4 separate regions of the Homo sapiens genome follow, and regions 1, 2 and 4 are each linked to region 3. The links are contacts of gene promoters, found by promoter capture Hi-C in blood cells and fetal thymus (Javierre and others, 2016). All regions are on one chromosome and are shown on one strand. The core of a region is centred on a gene start or on the middle of the fragment in contact, and the rest is flanking DNA. Distances in the headings are between cores, read along the strand shown.

What was found. The method cuts DNA at HindIII sites, captures the fragments that hold promoters and counts their contacts. A CHiCAGO score of 5 or more calls a contact.
Region 1: a fragment that was not itself captured here is called in contact with the fragment with the promoter of EMC2 in region 3 in 5 of 17 cell types (non-activated CD4 T cells, total B cells, total CD8 T cells and 2 more); the score reaches 9.3 in non-activated CD4 T cells.
Region 2: a fragment that was not itself captured here is called in contact with the fragment with the promoter of EMC2 in region 3 in 6 of 17 cell types (total CD4 T cells, non-activated CD4 T cells, naive CD8 T cells and 3 more); the score reaches 9.5 in total CD4 T cells.
Region 4: a fragment that was not itself captured here is called in contact with the fragment with the promoter of EMC2 in region 3 in 1 of 17 cell types (total CD4 T cells); the score reaches 5.6 in total CD4 T cells.

What each region holds. Positions count from the first base shown.
Region 1 is chr8:109,565,733-109,568,687 of GRCh38, forward strand. It overlaps EBAG9 (estrogen receptor binding site associated antigen 9), which reads left to right. Exons shown (of 7, transcript NM_004215.5): 7 at 1-264. Among named protein-coding and RNA genes, the nearest start is that of EBAG9, 27 kb to the left of the region's middle. The HindIII fragment of the contact is 730 bases long and covers 977-1,706 here.
Region 2 is chr8:109,548,930-109,551,852 of GRCh38, forward strand. EBAG9 (estrogen receptor binding site associated antigen 9) reads left to right here. Exons shown (of 7, transcript NM_004215.5): 2 at 1,881-1,978. The coding sequence starts at 1,896. Among named protein-coding and RNA genes, the nearest start is that of EBAG9, 10 kb to the left of the region's middle. The HindIII fragment of the contact is 4,370 bases long and covers 1-2,923 here.
Region 3 is chr8:108,442,079-108,444,914 of GRCh38, forward strand. It overlaps EMC2 (ER membrane protein complex subunit 2), which reads left to right and starts at 1,546. Exons shown (of 11, transcript NM_014673.5): 1 at 1,546-1,620. The coding sequence starts at 1,581. LOC105375704 (a long non-coding RNA gene) reads right to left here and starts at 1,394. Exons shown (of 3, transcript XR_928530.4): 1 at 1,292-1,394. RefSeq lists a silencer at 1,380-1,499. The HindIII fragment of the contact is 5,303 bases long and covers 1-1,973 here.
Region 4 is chr8:109,517,755-109,520,627 of GRCh38, forward strand. PKHD1L1 (PKHD1 like 1) reads left to right here. Exons shown (of 78, transcript NM_177531.6): 73 at 413-754. Among named protein-coding and RNA genes, the nearest start is that of EBAG9UORF, 21 kb to the right of the region's middle. The HindIII fragment of the contact is 663 bases long and covers 1,244-1,906 here.

The DNA of each region.
Region 1 (2,955 bases), core at 92-2,591, 1.1 Mb after region 3:
CATTCGGTGAGATTTTGAAATGTCATAGATACTGTACAGGCCAAACCTTACTAATTTATTTTACTTAAAGTGATATTTTATAGAAAAATCATAAGTTATACAATGAGAACCCTTTAAGCCCTTAGCCTAAGCTTTCAGACTAAATGTGATTATAGAATAAGATGAAAGTTAACTTTGGTACAGAGCTTTTTATAGCCCCAAATTATATTTCCAGTTATTATATTCATTAGAATTTCTGCTAATAAACTCCCAACTTAAATAGAATTGGGCTCAAAGTTTTAATAATGTATTCTCTTCCTTCTTTGTATTTATAGTTAGTTATTATGGGAATACAACATATCTTCTCTAAATTTGGAATTCATAAAGGATAACTTCCTTTAGCTCAATTACTTGTATTGCTTTTCCCTAGTAGCTGAAAAGTATTTAAGTTTGGTTTGGTCATGATTTTCATGTGTTTGAGGTTTTTGTTGTTGTTGTTTGGCTTTTTGGTTTTTGATTATTTAAAAATAAAGACATTAGCAATTATAGTTAGTATGATTAGGAAGAAATAGATTTTTCTTGTGGAAAGAATAGATAACAATTCTGGAATTTATTTTATCTCTATTGATGTGTAAACTAAATTCCTGTATTAACTTGGGTATATTTTGGTCCCAAAAGTAGTCACTGAGTTAAATGCATATGACAAACAATTCATGGTAGCATACTGTCTCTTTTAGCTACTAAATTTATGGTTTCTATTTTTTGTTTTCTTGATTTCAATAAAGAATTGTCAGTTTTAGATGCTTATTAGAAATAATAAGAAATACTGGTAGGCATAGATAGAATTAGTGAAGTTTTAACCATTAGCAAAATCGTGCATTTCATGTACTGAGATAACAAGTAATCAAAGACATGGGAAACTTACCTTGTGTTTTTTTTTGTTTTGTTTTGTTTTTTATGTAGTAATTTCATGGTTTCTAGCCATTTCCTCTTCTTAAGCTTTACCTAGGGATATTCTCTACTTGGCTCTTCTTTTAGTATAGCATGTTTAATTGAGTTGACATTTTAGAACTGAAAATTTGAAATTCTGCATCCGAATTTCTCAGTTTTGACATGCACTTGCCTCTGGGTGATTATTTCTAGGTTGTTTCTACATGAAGATTGGTGATTGGGCAGAAGGTACCTACAGAAACCAGCATCTGGATCGAGCTTCCAACACCACTCTACAAGCTACCACCATGGCGTAAACCTAACCATAGTCAGTGTTCCAAAAAGCCTGAATTTTGTTGAGAATGGTATGTTTACTAAAGGATGGTTTGAGCCAGACAGAGCTAACATACTCATCTTGTTTGATCCTATGAAGTTCAGATTTGGAATAACCAACGATGGTTTTCATACTCCTTAAACCCCTTGCTCAAAGGAAATCTTCAGGCATGTAAGCAAACATGACAGGGTTCCGAATGGATCCCTGCTGGGAGGTTGGGAGTGGGCTAGAGCCTACAGATTGTTCCAGGGAAGGAGCTAATACCCTCTCAGGTGAACTGGAGGGCTGAAGAAGATAGTGGGTTCATGAAGAGCATATTTAGTAGCTAATAACTTAAACTTGTTTTTGTCATTTGCATAGTTTTTTTTTTAAATTTGAACTGCTCTGTCCTAATACAATACGAAGAGATTTATTTTTTTCTTTGTGTAATTCCTTTCACTTTTCTTTAACCAAAACTATCCCAAGCTTACAGCAACAGCTAGGTACTCTTTTTATACTCAACTGTTTTTTGTTTTTTTTACATTGCCTTCTGCTTTTTATCTTCCATCCCTCTTGGTCATGACCATTGGGCATACTCAATAACCAGAGTAGGTTTTGAGAGCTAGTAAAATGCTTTTTCACCAGACACCTTCGATCTTCTATAGCTTGAAAGAAACACTCTATTCTAGGGACCTCCTTGACCATCTTTTACCTTCAACAACAGATTTGTTTCTATCCTTTCATACCTCCTGCTGACACTGCTAGTTCACCAGTGGAAACTTTTGCAGAGAAGCTCACTGAAAGTCTGCGGCCAGTCCAAGATAATCCCAGCCTTCCCTTTCAGGGGACTTCTTTTCAGGGGATCTTTCTGTAGATGCTTTCCTTATATACATTGATCAGATCACCCCGGCTCTGAGAGGTTCCCAGAGTTCTCAGAGCTTCTGTAGAGGTAGTACAGCATTAAACAAATTGCCAGAGTTTGCAAATCTTTTAAATGGAAATGGTGGTTGTAAGGATTGAGACTGTACATAAGTGTTCAGTATAAGCACTCAATAATTGGAAGTTGGTATGAGGCCCTATATACTTCCCACATCTCACCATGCAGTGGTATTGGCAGCCCCTTCCCTGCAAAGAGTGGGAGAAGTTGCCTAATCTTGCAGTATTTTATACACCTTTAAATTGAACTTGAAATTTAGCAAGAAAGAAAACATTTATTGTAAGTCTGAGTCTTTGACTAATTATATCAGTGACTCTTAGCAATCCTGTAAGAGATACTACCCTTATTTCACATATAAGGAAACCAAGGCCTAGAAAATAAATTGTGTACTTGATTAATGGAATGGAAAATAGCAACCTTAGAGAGGAGGTTATAATAGTGGTTAATCAACAGTCTATGTAGACTATGATTTCTAAGGCCTCTCTTGACGGAACTATGAGCCGCCAAAATGCCTTTTAAAGTTTCTCCTAGTTCTTAATGAAGATAGCATTACAAATTATAGTAGATAATACCCATTTGTGTTTTCTAATAATTTAATAAATATGAAGAAAATTAGCTTGGTTTTTATTTTCATATAAATGACAACTGTAGTTGAATATCAGTGCCATATAATTTCATATTTGCAGTTTATTTGGGTCAGATAAGGCAAAATGAAATTGATTTATATTCACACAACTGCAGAAATAAGCCAATTAGCTCACTTGATTGGGTCATAATTATAATGAGGTCAAGGCCA
Region 2 (2,923 bases), core at 393-2,892, 1.1 Mb after region 3:
CACTACGATGTTGACTAAAAGTAGAAAAAGCAGACATGCTTGTGTTGTTCATGATCTTAGGGAGAAATTATCAAATTTTTTTACCATTAAGTCTCATATTACTGTAGGTTTTTCATAGATGTTTTTGATCAGGTTGAGAAAGTTCCCTTATACTTTGCTGCAATTTTTTTTTTTAACAGGAATGGATGTTGAGTTTTGTCAAAGGCTTTTTCTGTCTCTATTGAGATGTTTATATGGTTTTTTGTTTTTAGTTTGCTAATATAGTGAATGACATTTGATTTTTAAATGTTAAACCAATCCAACATTTCCAAACTAAGCACCAGTTTTTCACAATGTAGTATCCATTTATATATTGTTGGATTTAATTTACTAATATTTGGCTAAGGAGATTTGTGTCTAGATTCATAGAATATTAATAGTTTTCTTTTCTAGTAATATCTTTGGATTAGTATCAGTGTAATACTGGCCTCAAATAATGAGTTGGGGAAATATTCCTTCTTCAGTTTTTTGGCAGTTTGTATAGAATTGGTATTATTCCTTCCTAAGTGTTTTGTAGAATTTACCAGTGAAGCCATCTGTGTCTGGGAGATTTTTATAACTACAAATATAATTTCTTTAATAGATATATAGATTTTCAGGTTGTTCTTCTTATGCTTTAGTAATTTGTGTCTTTCAGGGAAGTTGTCCATTTCATCTCACTTGTCAAGTAAATACAGGCACAAAGGTGTTTGTAATAGTTCTTCAGTATCCTTTTAATATCTGCAGACTCTAACAATGTTATCTGTCTTGTTTATGATATTGGCAAAAGTCTGTTATTAAGGACACGTGTTTTAGATTGTTATGTACTTTTTATTAATTGACCCCTTTATCACTGTGAAATGACCACTTTTATACCTGGTAATGTTATTTTTCCTATAATCTGTCTAACATTGAAATAGTCACTTCACCTTTCTTTTGATTAGTGCTAGCATAGTATATTTTCTCCTATCCTTTTACTTTTAACCTATTTGTGTCTTTTTATTTAAAATGCATTTCTCATTGGCAACATGGAGTGGGGCGGTCTTTCTTTCTTATTCAATCTAACAATCTCTGCTTTTCAATTGGAATGCTATACAATTTGCATTTAATGAGATTATTGATATGGTTAGATTTACGTCTGTCATCTTATTTGTTTTTGGCTTGTCCCATGTGTTATTTGTTCTCTTTTCTTTGTTTCCTGCTGCCTTTTCAATTGAGTAGTTTTTATCTCCCTGCTTGTCTTATTGGTTATGACCAGTCCTTGCCCCTCAGAATATATGATTTAATGGACTTACTAGAGGTACTCCTAGGTATTGGCATTTCTTTAATAGATTCCCAGATTTGTGAACCACTGGACTAAATGAGCTCCATGGTAACTTTCAATTTACTAGCTATGTGACTTTGGTCAAGTTATTTGACCTCTCTTAATTCAATTTCCTCATCTATAAAATGGATATAAGGAAATATATTCATCTGCAAGTTAAAAATATTTAAAGTATTTTAAATAGTATTATGTTCATGTGGTTCAAACTTTAAAAGGTACACAGAGATTTAATATATTCTATTTTATACTTTTTTATTTTTTGAATTGTAGATTTTTGTATTAATAGATTTAGGTAAAATTATTTTCAAAAACTCAGAATGAAGGGTTTTATCCTTACAACCATTGAAAACTCGAAAACCTGGTTTTTGACTTGTTAATATGATTTAAATTATAATTTTAAAATTTACTGTGTTATAGTTTCTAGAGAAAGGTAAAAAATATCTTAGATTTTTCTTAGTGCATAATAGGTCTTTTCAGGACAGGAGTATGACTTTTGAAATCAATTTAATGCATTTTTTGTTTTGTGCCTCTTCCACAGGTTTTGATTCCCACCATGGCCATCACCCAGTTTCGGTTATTTAAATTTTGTACCTGCCTAGCAACAGTATTCTCATTCCTAAAGAGATTAATATGCAGGTAAATAAGTTTTATGTTCAAACTAACCTGTTTATCTCCTCGCTGGTTTTGGATACCTTCAAAACTTCAAATTTCGTGGACAGGACAGGTTATATTTAAGCTGAATATCTTGATTGCAGTATTTATTCATTAATTCCTAGTCATTTTTAGATACTTTTTCTCTACTTCAGATCTAGAAAATAGAGGTTCAGTTGTTTTGTTCATTCAAATTCTTACACTTTCCACTAAAATAACATGCTTAATACTATTTAGGAATAGACAGACCAACTTTCATTATTATAATCATCACAGAACTTTGATGTATTCGTTTCATTATGGGAATGTTTTAAAGTGGTTAGGTGAAATTCGGAATAGGTATTTCTGTCTATACTACAATAGTGTTGTTTTTATATTTAAAAAAAAATCCTAAGAAAAATCCTAAAAAAAAAAAATTTTTTTTTCTGTTTGAGTAACATTCTAGAATATGCAGGAAGTCAAGAGCAGGTAAGTCATTTGCTTTAGGACATCATCTGTAGACTTCAGTTCCTTCTGTTTTGTCACACGATCATACCCAAGAGCTATGATGTCTAAAATGTGTGCTGAGGCACCTCAGGGCTTTACATGAAATTCACAGGGATGCCATAGAATATTTTAAATTTTGCAGTGAAACATAGTGATAGCATCTGTTGAATACCTCAACTCAAAGTAGTTCACATTTGCAACATTAAATCCTGCAGTATTTTTTTATGATGGTGTTCTTTAATGTTTGAGATAAGTTTTTGTTTACTTATATTTTTGGTGACATCTCATTGCAAAGCCAGGATTTTAGGTTGTAATTAAAAGCGAGTACTGCACCAAAATTAATGTAGAACTGAAAACAAGAATGATGGTCTCCAGTCTTATTCTAAGGCATAAGAAGCTGTGCAGTGTTCAACAGGCACACAAATTTCATTAATAAGTTCAGTG
Region 3 (2,836 bases), core at 296-2,795:
TTTAACTTTTTGAATGAAAGATTTTTAAAAAGTCTGTTTAGAAAGAATGCCAGCTCATTCAGAATTGAATCCAAGTATATACATTCACTAGTCTTCTCTGTTGTTAAGTGACTTCTCTGGGGTCTATGGTTTGATGGTTTTTTTCCTTTTTTTAAACAAACAAACAAAAAAACCTCTGCGGTTGACTGGAGCCGACAGGTGAGGAATGGAGAGATGTTGGTCAAATAGTACAAACTTTTGGTTGTAAGATGAATATGTTCTGGAGATCGAATGTACAGCATGGTGACTACAGTTATAATTCTGTATTGTATACTTTGAAGTTTGCTGAGAGATTTTTAAGTGTTCTCAACACACACACACACACACACACACAGGAAATATGTACGGTGATAGATGTGTTAATTAGCTTGCTTGTGGTAATCATTTCACAGTGTATATTTACATCTAATCATTACTTTGTATACCTTAAATATACACAATTTTTGTCCATTACACCTCAATAAAGCTGAGAAAAAAAACCCTCCACTCTTTTGACTTGTGGGATAGTATTATTTCTACTTCTCAAATCAACTGCCCCTTCTTTACTGACCAATAACTTTCGGCTGCATTGCAGTGATTTTTAGTTTTTTCTCAGCTTACATATTTCCTCTACAATCTCATGTCCCCATTGCTTCAAATACTAAATATACGCTTATCATCCTCAAATTTTTTACTTCCTGTCCAGACATTTCTCCTTAAGTCTAGGAGATGACGTCCAAAGTTTCCTAAAAGCAATTAGTCTGGTGGGAAAGGAGGCTCCCCCATCCACCCAGGAGTAATGAGGAGCGAAGTTCAGGAACTGTGAAGGTCTCATTCGTACATTCATTCCTTATAAGTACTTACATACTCGCGACAGTTTGAAACCTAGTGTGGCATGCAGACATGGATGAAGCAATGACAGGCACGACGAGCGTTAATGAAGGGTATAAGCTAGCGCGAGGGCATTCAAGGGAACTTCAGAGCGCAAAGGAAGAATCCCACTTAGTCTCTCAAAACTTTGGAGTTTATCCGTTTAGTCGATTAAAAAGTGAACGGAAAGCAAATCCCATTACGGAAGGAGGAAAGTTGGGGACAAATAAGGGATTCGTGCAGAAGGCTGCACTGCGGCCGGCCATGAAGAGAATAAGGGTACTTAAGGGAGTGTGAAGAGAATGAACAAGCCTAGGTAGAAAAAACTGAAAAGCCAGGATTGACGGACACTAAAAACCCAGCATTTGTTAAAAATCCACGTCAACACACACACACACCTCACCCCGAGCCAGCACCGTAGCCCCGCCAGCAGCCAGGGTATCCTGAGATTGCGGGAGCGCCACGCACCGCCCACCTAGCTCCGTCCACCGTCCAGCTCGCTCCGCCCAGCTCGCTCCGCCCCCTTCCCCGAAAGCCCCTCCGCAGAGCCGCGTGCACGTGCGTGGCGGATACCGCCCCCTCTGCTCTCTTGGCCAATGAGAAAAAGCTACGTAACTCTCCACCGCCCGGTGGCGGGTCACGTGACTGCGTCTCCCCGCCCTCTCACCCCGCTGCCTCTAGGTTCTGGGAAGATGGCGAAGGTCTCAGAGCTTTACGATGTCACTTGGGAAGGTAACTTCGGGTGGGGGCGGGTGCGGAAAGACTAAAAGCGCTGGGAAGCCGTTCGGGAGTACCCGCTGCTTTCGGGGAGCTGGGTTCTCTGGTGTCTTTTTGGTACCAGAGCCCTCACTGTACGGGCCAAGCTGAGGTGGAGGCTGAGGCTGACCCTTCCCTTGGCCCGGACGCGTACTCTGCAGCGTTTCCCACGGTGTCTGCTCCTCGGTTGACCTGCCCTCCTCCGCGCCAGTCCAGCGTCCCGGGGCCGCTTTTATTTATGAGGCGGGCGGGAGGGACTTGGGGCTGGGGTTGTCGCACGCTAACTGGTTGCTGGGCGGTGCGGAAGAGGCGGAATAGGTGGTTACTGAAGCTTCTTTGGAGCCAAGAAACACAGGGCCTGTAAGGCCCTTTACTAAGTGGTGTGTAAGGATTACAGCTCTGTGCAGAAAAGCTGTGTAAAAGATGCGTGAACAAATGTGATTCTCATATGCCACTCTACATTTAGTTTTCTTCTTAAACCCGGGTTTCCAGTTTCTTTTCCTTTTAGTCTAGTCTCTGTCCCACTCCTTCTCAAAACACATTTACACACACAACACAACTTCTTTCTTACTCCCTACTAGTAGTTTCTTTTCTGAAGGGAAAAATAACTAATTAACTCTGGGCTACGTAAGTGCTTACGTGTGATGGTCACTTTTCCCTATCCTTAGTTGATCTAGAGTGGGATATGTTCTTTAAATCTGGGAACAGCCAAACCTTGGATCAATTCTGTGTGCTTAAGAAACTTGAGTTTCATTAAGGCGTGGAATTTGTGTAATTGGAATTCATATTCCCAGCATTTAACATAATACAGGAGACTTCAGTAGCTAATTTGCTTAACGAATGCCTTCTTGGGATGTTTTAATAATGACCTGAAAACATGTGGACCGAAAGTTGTATTTTCTGTTTTATCGTGAATAAATATATCAGTTATTATAAAGTTGTAAATCCGTTACAAATAAAGCAAAATTTCTTTGTACTTGAACTGAATTAAATGATTTATTGACTTTATGGCCTCTAGCACGTTGTGAATCTCAGTATTTATACCTGAATTGAGGGATTCCATTATATTAAACAACAGTGTTGATTTCTTACTGCAAAATCTTGGCTCTGTCAACACACAGTCCCCACTTCCAAGGAAGTCACAATCTAATGGAGAAAACAAACCTGTAAACACACAGTTTTAAAAGGCTTG
Region 4 (2,873 bases), core at 325-2,824, 1.1 Mb after region 3:
TAGCACTGTATAAATTAGATAGCTAGTAAAGTTAAATTTATATTTTTAAATTACCAAATGCCTTCAGTCAAGGCTTTAAAATTATGAGCATGTGAATAGGGTTTCAACTACAGTATAGGCTCCTGGGATCATAACTTGATTTGTTTCTCATTTATACTGTGTCTATATAGCTAATTTTTAAAAAACAAACAATGTGTAATGATTATTTGTGGTATTTTTTAAAGGAGTGGCTTTAATTTCGCAGGTCAGTTCTATAAGTGTTTTTGTTTTTAAAAAGGTATGCTTTCTTATGAAAGAATGATAAAGTTGAATTTGGGGGACTTTCTAAATTCAAACAAACATTAAGTAACGCATGTTGATTGTGATAATATAAAATACTTAGCTGTGATGTTCTGGCTTTTTTCCTTCATAGACCAATTCCTTCCTAACCTGGATTCCACTGTCCTTGGTGAAAACTACTTTGATGGAACCTACCAGATGCTTTATCTTTTGGTTAAAGGAACTATACCTGTTGAAATTCACACTGCCACAGTGATATTTGTTTCTTTCCAATTATCTGTTGCAACAGAAGATGACTTTTATACCTCTCACAATCTGGTTAAAAATCTTGCCTTGTTCCTAAAGATACCAAGTGACAAAATCCGTATCAGCAAAATAAGAGGGAAGAGTCTGAGGAGGAAGAGATCCATGGGATTCATAATTGAAATAGAGATTGGAGACCCTCCTATTCAGTTCATAAGCAATGGCACCACAGGTATGAATAACAGGTGTTTGAGATGGAGGAATGCAATTACCAAATCCATATCCATAAATAACCTGATCAGGGCTTGGTGAGCCTGGCCTCAGGAAATCCCATCAACCCCACATCCTGAACCCTCTAAGTGCCCAGAGACCCTTTTTCCTTCTTTGCTCCTGTACTACCAAACTGTTTTAGAATTGGAAGGAATTTGAATCTCTGTTTTGTTATTGTGATGATTAATAAGTTCAACAAAAGAATTTGATCTAATATAAAAAGATCTGGGAAGACCTACTTAAGCAAGTGACCTTACAGATGAGAGATTAAGGATGAAGATAGTCAATGAAAAGACAGAGGAAAAAGAGTGTTCAAGCTATGGAAACTGTTGGTGAGAGTTTGGTGCATTTGAAGAGAGGAAACAGGTCCGATTGGTCTGGAGTGGAAGGAGCCAGGAAGGACAAGCTGCTGGAGGTGTAGCCAAGGGGTAGACAGGTGCTAGATGTGGAAAGCTTTGGAAGTCAAAGGAAGGACTGTGGATGTTTTCTTAAGAAAAAGAGTAAATATTCTTGGATATTCTGAGCAGTAGATTGGTGGGTTAGATTTCCACAGTAAAGTCACAGATTCAGCCCAAAAAGGGCAGATGTGCAAGTACATAATCTGTCTTTATTTCCTGTGACTGAGCGAATCATCCTCACAAGCCATCATCCCCTCTCTGTGTCCCTCACTTCCTATTTTTTATCAGAGATAAAAAAATAAGCTCAACTGTCCCATCAGAGAAATCTCTGCTGGCTGAAATCATTTCCTTAGGGTCACTCAGTTTGGGCACTTGAGTAAATGCTCAGCTCTTCAAATTTTCTCTATCCATCTGCTCCTTTCAAGTTGGGGTCTGAATACCAAGGGGCTGTTCTGGCCTCCGTCCTCATGTTATCATCTTGTCTTCACAGCCTCTGGTACAGAGTGGGTCATCTTCTCTGCTCTACATATGCATCTCTTGAGGTACTACTGAACTTTCCTGGTCTTCTGGGATGCAATAATATCCCCCACTGCTAACCTGCAACCATGCCTTTGTCTTCAGTGGTCAAGCACAAGTACTCTGATCTAGGTGTACCCCTCCCCAAGAACAGGAAAGGCAGGTATCTGTCAGAGGAAGACTTACCATCCAGTTAATGAAGCTTACACTTCAAGCCCCCTCACTGATACAAGTCCTGGGAGGGGCTTTCACTTTCAATACCTTAGGAGAGGTCCTCATAATGTGGTCAAATCATTGAATGTTATTATGAAAGCTACAAAGGTATGATTTTTCTGCATTCCTTTTCCTAAAGAGATCGTCCAGACATATATAAACTGCAGCCCCACTAGGTTGGGATCTACCCTATCTACCTGTGTTCAGTCACTTTATCATTAAACTCCCAGGCTCTGTGTAAACCTGGGTACTGGGTGAAGTTCTCACTTTATGCCACTAGAGATCTTCACTCATTTTCCCAAGAGGTTTGCTTCTAGGCATTGACCCTATGCACCTACCACATTATCACTCTGGAATTCTATCAGCTAAGCAGGTGGAAGTTTCTTCCATTGGGGGGATAAGCCTGTGGGAAGGCTTGCCTGTGTGGAGGGAGGTGTTTATAAACTCTTGGTTAGAAGAGCGTAGGAAGCCTAGGCTTGTGTTGCAACCAGATCTCCCACGATGTTCTCTGCCCAGAGTAATAGTTAACTTTCCTTCGTCAGTTCTGTACTCACTTGGACTTACAGGCTCAGGGTTTGGACTCAGCATGACTTTGCCTGTTATTTTAGGAGTTGTAAAGGGCCCATGGCACATATACAGATTACTCACCTACTCTTAGAAATCCCTGGTGAGCCCTTACGTGTCGTGAGGTCCAAAATTTACCACACTAGCCACTAGATATCCAAAGAAACTGGGATTTATTTCTTACATGTGACATATATTTCCCCACATACAATCCCTCCTACATCCATCCCCTTAAAGCAGTTTTAGCTTGTTAGATTTATCCAGACAGGTATAAGACCACTGAAGAATGTAGAAGTTAGGGATGGTGGGAGGGACAGGCTAATGGCACATTTTCTAGACATAGACTGCGATAGTGTTTCAAGTCTCAAGGAGAACCCTACAACTTGGTGA